3 separate regions of the Homo sapiens genome follow, and regions 2 and 3 are each linked to region 1. The links are contacts of gene promoters, found by promoter capture Hi-C in human tissues and cell types (Jung and others, 2019). All regions are on one chromosome and are shown on one strand. Each heading gives the region's core, a stretch centred on a gene start or on the middle of the fragment in contact. The rest is flanking DNA. Distances are from core to core; before and after follow the strand shown. Region 1 holds the start of UNC5CL (unc-5 family C-terminal like). Region 2 holds the start of SAYSD1 (SAYSVFN motif domain containing 1). Region 3 has its middle 26 kb from the start of DAAM2.

Region 1 (3,661 bases), core at 631-3,130:
CCAGTTATAATGCTGTTGATGCCTGTGGTCTTTGCATCCCATGAACCAGCTCTGTGGCCATGGGAGTGAGTGGTAGGAGCCTTCACATTTCTTCAGAGCCTCCTTATAATTGGGATTGTCCCCAAGAGTGGCAAGAACTAGCTTGGGAAGTGAGTTCATAATCCATGAACACAGCCCCTGGTTATAGCCTCCTGGTTGGCATGACCTTCCTGGCTTAGAACCCTAGCTTGACAGATCTTTCACAAACCCCTAGGACTTTATGACTCAGAGGAGAAGGCAGCTGACAAGTGGAGGTGGGTGGGGAGTCAAGGAGGAGTGACCTGGCGCTTCCTGGCAGAAAGTCCTGCCTCCCAGCCGCCCTAAAGAGGGGTAGGGGAGAGTGTCCCTGTCTGTTGGCAAAGTCCAGCCTCCTGTGTGACTCAGACAGAGCTTTGTTCAACAAAGACAAACACCCCTACCCCACTCCTTTCATTCCCTATCAAAGTTCTGAGCACCCCTTCCTGGCTTGTCTTTAGGCATGAGGTCTGCTTCCCAGGTTGCCCGCTCTCTACCATCTCTGCACTTTGGGGTACTGGGCTCCCCTGGGAGGTTTATTCCACCCTCTCACCTCCACCAGGGAAGGAAGCAGAGGGGAGGGCATTGCAGTCAGAGACAAGAGGCTAGAGAATTATTAACTGAGACAAAAGCAGAGGAAGTTACTTATTTTCTATGGGAGATGATAACTAGGGGCCTGGGGGGGCGTTCACCATGCCTCCTCAACTGCAGGAGGCCAGACCCTGGTGACAACGGTTACCATCTATTGACCACCCATTCTGTGGTGGGCATTTGACATTTATTAGCTCAATAATGACAATTATTATCTCACACAAGGTAGATATTCTTAACTGCATTTGACAGACAAGGGAATTGAGGTTCAGAGGAGTTAAGTAGCTTGCCCAATATTACATACCCAACGTGTGGCTCACCTGGGCTCAGTGTTGGCCAGTTGGAGCCAAAATGCATCCTTTTCCCTCTCAACTGCTTCACTCATTCATTCAAGACATGTTTATTGAACACCTTCTATCTATCAGGCTGTACCAGGAGCTGAGGAGACAGCCGAAAACATGGGAAAAGTTCCACAAGGAGTTTTCATTCTTGTGGTGCCACCGCTCCTAGGCAGAGTTTTAAGAACTCAGAATGGCAAATGGCCCCAAAGTTCAGTTGTCTCCCAACCGGCAGTGTCTCTGCCAACTTTGGGTGGGGGAAGTAGAAAGCACCTTGTGTAAGGAAAAATATGGGTACATCTCAGGTCCACCAGCAACTGGTGAGTCATTAACCGTCTCAGTGGCTCCACTGTCTTCTCTGTGTGGGGAGCGGGTGGAACTAGATGCTCTCTAAGCTCCTTGGACCGGTTGCATTGGCATCAGCTGGGAGCTTCTTTGAGCTGCAGAATCTCAGGCCCCATACTAGACCTACAGAATCAGAGCCTGCATTTTAACAAGATCTCCCAGGTGACTGTTGTGCACATTATAGTTTAAGAAACTCAGATGAAGGTTCCCTCCTCCTCCTATCTGCTATTTTAATAATAGCCTCTGGCTGGGGACAGCCACTCACCAGCAGAGGGCACTGTAAGGAGGGGTTTCAAGGTGCAGCACCTACACCCAGGTTGTCTCCCTGCCTCCCTCCTTCCTTCCAGACCTAGACTGGAAAGTTCACTGACTTCTGGGATCCTCAGCTAATCCCTTACCTGGGCTGGACTTTGCCAATAGACAGGGACACTCTCCCTCACCCCTCTTTAGACAGCTGGGAGGCAGGGCTCTGCCAGGAAATGCCAGGCCACTCCTGCCTGGATTCCCCGCCCACCTCCACTTGTCTGCTGGCCTGCCGACTGAATCTGGCTGACCCTTGTTTCTCGGAGAAGGAACTGGACCAGCCAGCAGCCTCTAAGAGCTCCTAGACGGTAAGTTGAGCACCCCCTTGGGGCAGCTGGAGAGGGGATGGGCATTGTGATGGGGTTACCTGGAGCTTCGGGGGAGGAGCCAGGCCAGCTTAGCCTGCCTGCTGGAGTGTAGGGACCCTCTGCTGGAGGAGGGGAGGAAAATGGGACTTGGCCAATGGGTATGAGGACCACTGGGATGATTCTGTGTCCTGCGGAAATGTCTACTATACTAACAAATGCCATTCATGACTTGGGTTTGGACCATCCATCCCAGTACTTGTTATGTTCTGCAGTAACTGGACATCTATCAGGTGTTGGGGAGGCACAGGGAGAACCAGTGAGGTGGAGGAAAGGTTGAGAGTTTTCTTAAAGGGTATGAGCAGAACTTTGCAGCAGGAGTTTGGATCTTTGTGCTGGAGGATGCAACTGCCTAGGGACAGGTGATGGCAGCATTCTAAAGGACTCTCGTTTCGGGGACCCGCTACCCAGGGTGATCTGGGGTCTGGAGCAAGACAGACTGGAGGAGTGGGTAATGAGGAGTCCAGGCATGGGGTTGGGATGCCCCAAGTCACACTCGAATGGCTGCAGTGCTATAGTTGCCATTCAGCAAGACTCCGGACCTTTCCCCATTCTGGAGCCAGAGGGAGGATGCAGTGAGGGCCAGGGCAGCCTGGAAGAGCAGTCACCCTGGGAGAGGCCCAGTGGGGCTTTGGGAGTGGTGCATGCCAACTTCTCCAGGGTCGGAGGTTGAGCCAGGGGACTCTACTGCACCACCCAGTGAGGTGCACCTCACTGGGGATCTGGACTCTGGTCTTTGGTGGCCCCAGGAAGGTTACTGCTGTGTAAGCGAGCTGGGGCCCCTCCTTTCATCCCTTTAGCAATTCCATCCCCTGCCACTGGTACCTTGGTAGGTGGGGGTGTGGTGTAGTGGGGTGGGTATTACCACATAACTGAGGATGTAAATTTAGGTCCTTCTATTTGTCTTTACTTCATTTTTGCTTCTTTCTCTTCCAACTTTATTTCTTCTAGAGAAGGAAAGGAAGATACTTGGGGAAAAGAAGGGGTGGAGAGAGAAAGGGGGTATCTCTGGAAGTCCTTGTTCGTCTTTGCTCCTCCTTCCTGCCTGTCTTCAGTTGTTTAGTAATTCCCTATCCATCTTCACTGTGGGGAGAAAGCTCGGATTCCTTATCTGTGAAATGGAGATAAAAATAACACCTCGCTCCTAAGGCTGCTGTGAGGATGAGATGAGACAAGCCATGGAGAGTGCTTTAACACAGTGGCATTGAGTAAAGCTCTGCGAATGTTAGCTATTGTTATTACAGTTGGAATTATAATTATTACTAATGTGAAAGAACCAAAAGAAATGATGGGACATCAACGGTAGCTTGCTGCTCCAACCCCCTTCCCATCAGCTTTGGGACACTGCCAATTCACTGATTCACCTGTGTGCCCTCCAGGATGCCTGGTTGAAAAAGGCTGGTGCATTGTCTGCTGGGTTGGCTCTTTAGGCAAAGAGAACAATGCCAACCCCCGCTTCTTATTCACACTTTCAGTGAGGACATGGGAGAAACAGGTACTGCCCCAGTCTTCAATCCTGAGGATACAGTGGAGGTTCTGCCCTGGTCTAAGAGGCACTAGGAAGGGGCTTCAGTTTTCATGGGTCCTGAGGTTGGAAGGAAGAAGGTGGGCCAAGCCTCAGTTCCAGGTGGGTAGTGCAAGTGAAGGGCGTGGGGAGGACTGGAT
Region 2 (3,661 bases), core at 796-3,295, 1.9 Mb after region 1:
TTTTTGGATATCCAATAGGCATCCCAAGTTCTTTGTATGTCCAAAACAAAACTTCCAGTGTTTATTCTGTAATTCTCTCCTCCCAGTGTGCCCTCATTTCAATAGAGGGCCCCAGCATCATTTGCCTGGTTGCTCAGGGCATGTGTGTATGTATATGGGGGGGCAGGAGGAGTGGGGTAGTAATGGAAGAAACCTGTCATCCTTTTTTTTTTTTTTTTTTTTTAATAGCGATGAGGTCTTGCTATGTTCCCCAGGCTGGTCTTGAACTCCTAGGTTCAAGCGATCCCCCTGCCTTGGCCTCCCAAAGTGCTGGGATTATAGGCGTGAGCCACGATGGCTGGCCCTGTCATCCTTGATACCTTTTTTCCTCACATTCCACATCCAATCCGTCTCACACCATGTTGGCTCAGGTCTTCAAAATACATTCAGAATCTGACCAATTCTCGTGACCTCCATCACTACCACTCTAGCTCAAACTACTACAGTTTCTCATTCTACCATATTTATTCCTAACTAGTTTCCCTTCTTCTATTCTTGCAATCTTCCAGGGTCCCACCTCCATCAGCCAGTGTAATCCTTTAAAAATATGTCATATCATATCATCTCCTGCTCAAAATCCACTAACTGCTTCCCACCACACTTAGTCTTCACCATGGCCTACAGGGCCTTACATGCACGATCTTGCCCCTGGCATCTTTATTTTCTGTCACTCTTTCCTCCCTCCCTCCCTCCCTCTCTCCCCCTCTCTCCCTCCTTCCCTCCTTCCCTCCCTCCCTCCCTGCCTCCCTCTCCCTCCTTCCAATCCAGTCATAACAGCCTCCCTGATGTTCTGTGAACAAGTCAAGCGTGCTATTTGAGGCCTCGGGACCTTTGCACTTGTTCCTCTGACTGAAACACTCCTGTTCAGATATCTACATACCTCACTCATTTAAGTCTATGCCCAAATGACAAACCTTCAGGGAGGTCTTCTCTAATACCTCCACCATTGCCTACTTTGCTTCACTTTTCTTCACAGCACTTATCAGTACCTGATATGACATGAAATATGTAGATACACATTTGTTTATTGTCTGTATTTCCATTTGGAGTGTAAGCTCTAAGAAAACAGGTTTTTGTTTGTTTTTTCCTTTCATCCCAGCATCCCCAGTGCCTGTGACTTTAGACAGAGCAGGCCCTAGGTAAACGTCTGTTAAATGAATGGATGACTCTGTTCTAATTTGTCTAATTTCTCGAGTCACCCTCAGCCAGATCCAACAAATATTTGAGTCTTAATTATGTAAGTGACACTTAGCTAGATGCTTACAGCTTTAAGAACGTATAAAACAGCCCCTAACCTGAACTGTGTCCTTTTGGGAGGGTACTGATTGGGAGAGGGCACAAGGAAACTCCCAGAGTACAGAAATGTTCTTTCTCTCCATCTGGGTGGTAGTTACACAGGTGCATACATAAGAGCAAATCTACTGAGTCATATTCTTAAGATGTGTATTTTATGTTGCACCCCAATAAAAGTTTTTGTTGTTGGTTTTTTTAAGGTTCTGACGTATCTAGACACAAAACGAGATAATTTCCCAACGTGGCAAGACCAATGATGGAGCTGCACAGCCTGCTTTGTGAGCAGTGAGAAAGTCACCCTCCAGGTACTAAGATTGGCATACCCTTTCCTTGATAAGAGAAAAAGGGTAAGATGTAGCCTGTTATTCCTCTGACGCTGGAATGTCGTAGAGATCACGGGCCTCTCCTAACCCCTGGAACCATCTTCTCACTGTGGCGCTGTTCATTGGGGCCCAGCAACAGAGATCCCGAATACAGGACGCTGGATCAGTGGGGCCTCGAGCCCTTAAGTGAGATGCAGCAAGGCAGAGCGGCCTTTGGGAGAGGGCAATGGGGCAGCCCTGTGCTTTAGACTTGGCTTGAGGAGGTGACACTGTGTCCACGTGCCTGTGAAGAGAGAACGGCTGAGTATACACGCGACCCGCCAGACTTCACAAACGGAGGAGACGCGGGTCACACCAGTGCGCATGCTCAGCAGGGGCTTCTGCCACGCAGGCGCACGGCGGCCGGCGCGGGCCGAGCGGAGGCAACTGCTGTGCGGCCTGCGGGCGCGCGCTCCCTTATCGGCCAACGGACGCGAGGCGCGCGCCATGGAACAGCGGTTAGCTGAGTTTCGGGCGGCGCGGAAACGGGCGGGTCTGGCGGCCCAACCCCCTGCTGCCAGTCAGGGCGCACAAACCCCAGGAGAGAAGGCGGAAGCAGCAGCGACTCTAAAGGCAGCCCCAGGCTGGCTAAAGCGGTTCCTGGTATGGAAACCTAGGCCCGCGAGTGCCCGGGCCCAGCCCGGCCTAGTTCAGGTGAGACGATGGAAACTTCGGCCCTAGGACCTGGCCTCGGAGCCACAGTCGAGGGCGCGGCCCTAGCTGCCGGGGGTGTGGCCCTAGCTGCCGGAGGCGGGGCTACTGGCCCCCCATCCTGATCGAGGGCCGGACCGCTCATCTCCGGCCACACGTGTCAGCACTGTTACCAGTTTTGACATTTTCTTTCCAGCCCGCGACCCACGCAGGTCCTGATTCCAGCGAGAGTCGAGGGTCCTGGGAGAAAGCACCTCTGCTCTTAAATTATTCACTCCGAATTGAGTTATCGTGACGCCCTGTGGCATTGGGAAACCTCTCCACAACCAAGTTGAGCCACAGCCCTCTGCTAATGGAGGAGGGTAAAAGGTCTAATTGGATACCGATCACAAGTAGCAGTAATTAAAACTTCATTTGATTCGCACCTGGGGCACATGCAGCTAGTAGCCCAGATAGCCTGTGACTTAGAAATGCGTTTGAATACAGAATTTACCAAAGTGTGGTAGCTGTAACTGCCGGTAGTGGCAGAAGCTTATTCCAGTTCCATAGTGAATGTTCAAGACACAAACAAAAAAAAGTGATTTAGTATGATAACCTTTTCACATTTAATTGTTTTGGTAATCTCTTGTTTTGCAGATGAATTTAATTTGCATCCTTTTGTGTTTTCATTTAGTTTTAACTCAGTAAAATGGTAAGGTGGCTTGCAGTGAGGTTGAAATGTCTATGTGGAAATACAAGACAAAACATATCAAGGGATGAGTGCTTTGTAACAATTTGTGCCCAGTGCTTTGTTCCTCATAAGTGCAATAAGAACTAAAAAATTCCTTTTAAAATGAAAATATACTGGAAGAAAAGTGTACCTTGCTCACCTTAAAATTATTTCCTGTAAGTTCATCTATTATTGCACAACATTTGATTTGAGGGAATTTTTAAAAATTACTGAACCTATTACTCAATTTTGATTTGATATTCTCAGTGATATACAGGATTCCAGCTGACTTGCAGAAAGGTGAAAAGAGCGCAGCAGAGTTCAGACAATCCATTTCCTTGTGTGCAGTTTGTGTTAATTGTCTTTGGATAATTTTATTGTTGACTAGAACTTTCTAAGTACAACACTTGCTTAAGATTTTAGAAACCATTTCCCTTATTCTTTTTCTCTCTGCAGTTAAAAAACAATGTCTAACCCATGCAATGAACTTTTGACTGTATGTCTCATTTCCAAAGGAATGAGATCATTGAGGTGGACCCAGAGAAACTGAATTCAGAGAAAAACTTCCATTATTGAGAACCCAAACGCTGATTGCCAGACAAAAGGA
Region 3 (3,661 bases), core at 488-2,987, 1.3 Mb after region 1:
TTGTGAGTAGTGCCACAATAAACATACGTGTGCATGTGTCTTTATAGCAGCATGATTTATATTCCTTTGGGTATATGCCCAGTAATGGGATTGCTGGGTCAAATGGTATTTCTACTTCTAGATCCCTGAGGAATCACCACACTGTCTTCCACAATGGTTGAACTAGTTTACAGTCCCATCAACAGTGTAAAAATGTTCCTATTTCTCCACATCCTCTCCAGCACCTGTTGTTTCCTGACTTTTTAATGATACTTTAAAGTTCATATGGAACCAAAAAAGAGCCCCCATTGCCAAGTCAATCCTGAGCCAAAAGAACAAAGCTGGAGGCATCATGCTACCTGACTTCAAACTATACTACAAGGCTATAGTAACCAAAACAGCATGGTACTGGTACTAAAACAGAGATATAGACCAATGGAACAGAGCAGAGCCCTCAGAAATAATACCACACATCTACAACTATCTGATCTTTGGCAAACCTGACAAAAACAAGAAATGGGGAAAGGATTCCCTATTTAACAAATGGTGCTGGGAAAACTGGCTAGCCATATGTAGAAAGTTGACATATGTAGAAAGTTGAAACTGAATTCCTTCCTTACACCTTATAAAAAAATTAATTCAAGATGGATTAAAGACTTCAATGTTAGACCTAAAACCATAAAAACCCTAGAAAAAAACCTAGGCAATACCATTCAGGACATAGGCATGGGCAAGGACTTCATGTCTAAAACACCGAAAGCAATGGCAACAAAAGCCAAAATTGACAAATGGGATCTAATTATACTAAAGAGCTTCTTCACAGCAAAAGAAACTACCATCAGATTGAACAGGCAACCTACAGAATGGGAGAAAATTTTTGCAATCTGCTCATCTGACAAAGGGCTAATATCCAGAATCTACAAAGAACTCAAATAAATTTACAAGAAAAAACAAATAACCCCATCAACAAGTAGGCGAAGGATATGAACAGACAGTTCTCAAAAGAAGACATTTATGCAGCCAACAGACACATGAAAAAATGATCATCATCACAGGCCATCAGAGAAATGCAAATCAAAACTACAATGAGATATCATCTCACACCAGTCAGATTCTTCTCTTAGATCACAGACTCCACACAAAAAAATCTCCAGTTGGTATTAAAATTTGCCCTATCAATTAAAAATGAAATGGGATGACGAATGGATCTGGAGGGCCAAATGGAAGCCATCTACCACAGTCATTGAACAGAAATATGTTCTACCACCACCTGTCTGGTGCTTGGTAATCTTTCTACATAATGAATGAAATAAACCCACTGAAGTTTGGTCTGTTACAGAGCTGACTCCATTGGTTTTGGGAAATGGGTCAGAAAGAACCTCATCCACCATAAGATAATTAACACCACCATCAGGGAGTTTTCTTAGGTTTCGGTGAACTTCTTAACATGACCCAATTTGGACATCTGATTACCAAAGACTAAGCCAAATGTTAGCATTAAAATTTGGTGTCATGTTTATGCATTTAGTGTAAAGGTAGTGCCTGACCTGTATTTGAATTTGCCACAGAAAGATCAGGTCTGATATTTCATGCGCAGCAGGAGGTTCATGGGACCTGAATCGCTGTAATGAAGAAAAAGCCGCTGAACAGTTCCCTGGTGACGAGTTAATCAGATTTCACCAAAGATTTTGCCACACTGTGGAAAAGAATTTACATATGGGAGACTTTGGCTTGTTGCCTCTACATTTTGTCTCTTTCTTCTTTGAAGCAAAGTATTTACTACACGGTGACTTTTTAAAACTGACCATTTAATTTGGGGAAACAACTTTTTTGTATAAAGGGAAAACTCAACTTCATGTGTTTTCCTCCAGCTCCCCTGACTTTTTGAGACTATGTATTTTGCTGTTGGGGAACTTTTCCCTCGTCAGTTATACAATAAAGTCTTTGTTGTTCAGCATTCTATTAACCACAACCCTCCAGTAACCAGCACATCTGTAAATCTCTAGTACAATAATTGTTGTTCATAATCATGACCCAGGGGCTCTGCGTGGTCTCAAATGCCTTCTGAACCATCAAAGAGAACATACTGAAATGAGCTTGCATTCCCAGAGCACACATCAACCAACCACAGAGGGCAGGAGTCCAGAAAGTGCTAGGTAGAAGAAGAACTAAAACAGGAATGTTGAATTTGCCACAGGTACTTCCCCCTGTGGATAATGAATACCTACAGTACACTGGTTAGACCTTTCTGCTGTTTCTGTGCGTTTCTTTGTGCACAATGTAGACTCAACCAAAATATTAATGCTTGTGCTCAACTTTTGAAAGCACACAGCTGTAAAGGCAGATGTCAGTGTACCCAATTAAATCAAGGCTGTTTGTGCTTAATTTGTATTATCCATTGACAAATTAGAGTTAGTTAAAAAGCTTTTAAAATTTGAAAGTTTCTGAGCTTAAGAGTGGGTGAGATGTACCCTCTCTACTTGGCTGCTCCTACACTATAATTCCCATATGCTGACCACAGAGCAGCAAATTCATAGGTCATTTGCAGGCCTCAGGATGGACAAAACCAAGCATCACATGGAATGCTCTGTGTACATGAAAAAATGAAGAAGGTAATCAGGAAAAAGAGATTGGAGTTGAGAGGTGCAGTTTTATGACCAGGCTGATCAGGAGTCCCAGATCAAGCTCACTTGTTACATATAACACTGCAGGAGAAAGATTAGACAGTATGCTTCTTCAACATGAGGTGAATTTCATCCTGGAGGAAAATCAACTAATTCAGCCCAATGTAAGGTTTAAATATAAGTTAGGTTTAACTATCATCAAGCACTGGGATTGAAAATGTATAACTGGTTGATTTGCAGGTGGGGAAAAATCAGTTAGATTAGGGAAGATTCTGTGCATAGTTACCAGGAATGTCTGTTCATAGCAAAACAGAACATATTTTATATTGAACAACAACAACAAAAGCAGGATGTCATGATTTCTACAGATGCAGATAAGCCAATCAATAGAAGGAAGTTTTCAAGTGTTTATGGTACAGTTGCCCTTGTTCTCTCTACCTTCCTTCCCCTAACCAGTTCTAGTCTTGTTTCTATATAAAATTATAACCCTCCTTGATTCACCATTTAACATTTCATAAAGACTATGCCACTGAGATAAATGAGAAAATGCATGTTTTCAATGATAGACCTTTTTTTTGGTATGTGATCTAAAAAGTGTATTTTCTATAGGCACCATACTTCCTGCAGTTGAGCATCATACCTGACTCTGGTCCTACCAGAAGACAACAGCCTATCATGGGTTATGGCCATCCTTGCATCTTCCAACATCCATATTTTCTACCCAAATACCCTACATCACCCCAGTGGTCTACCTAGCACCTAGGATGCTACTTGCATTTGGGCCAGAACAATTCTCCCCAAGAATGTGGCATGCTTGGATATTTAGCATCCCTGACCTCTCTCCACTAAATGCCATAGCACTCTTACCACCACCAAAAGTCTTTAGGATGACCACATTTGCAAGAACTCCCTAGGAGGGTACTTCTGTCTTCCTGAATGAAAACCAGGGATTGCAAAGCAGCAATAGGGAAGCCACTTGCAACCAGGACAGGGCCTGGCAACTGGCTGTGCTTTTCTGGCCCTAACTTTTCTGGGCCACTAATCTCTTTTCCCTTTAC

The links. The method cuts DNA at HindIII sites, captures the fragments that hold promoters and counts their contacts. A contact is called where the count stands out against the background at its distance.
Region 2: the fragment with the promoter of SAYSD1 here is called in contact with the fragment with the promoter of UNC5CL in region 1 in 1 of the 25 tissues and cell types used here (spleen).
Region 3: a contact is called between a fragment that was not itself captured here and the fragment with the promoter of UNC5CL in region 1, in 1 of the 25 tissues and cell types used here (dorsolateral prefrontal cortex).

What each region holds. Positions count from the first base shown.
Region 1 is chr6:41,037,440-41,041,100 of GRCh38, reverse strand. It overlaps UNC5CL (unc-5 family C-terminal like), which reads left to right and starts at 1,880. Exons shown (of 9, transcript NM_173561.3): 1 at 1,880-1,939. The HindIII fragment of the contact is 20,650 bases long and covers 1-3,661 here.
Region 2 is chr6:39,113,570-39,117,230 of GRCh38, reverse strand. It overlaps SAYSD1 (SAYSVFN motif domain containing 1), which reads left to right and starts at 2,045. Exons shown (of 2, transcript NM_018322.3): 1 at 2,045-2,348. The coding sequence starts at 2,142. RefSeq lists an enhancer at 2,162-2,451. The HindIII fragment of the contact is 12,223 bases long and covers 1-3,661 here.
Region 3 is chr6:39,764,216-39,767,876 of GRCh38, reverse strand. No RefSeq gene overlaps it. Among named protein-coding and RNA genes, the nearest start is that of DAAM2, 26 kb to the left of the region's middle. The HindIII fragment of the contact is 7,239 bases long and covers 1-3,661 here.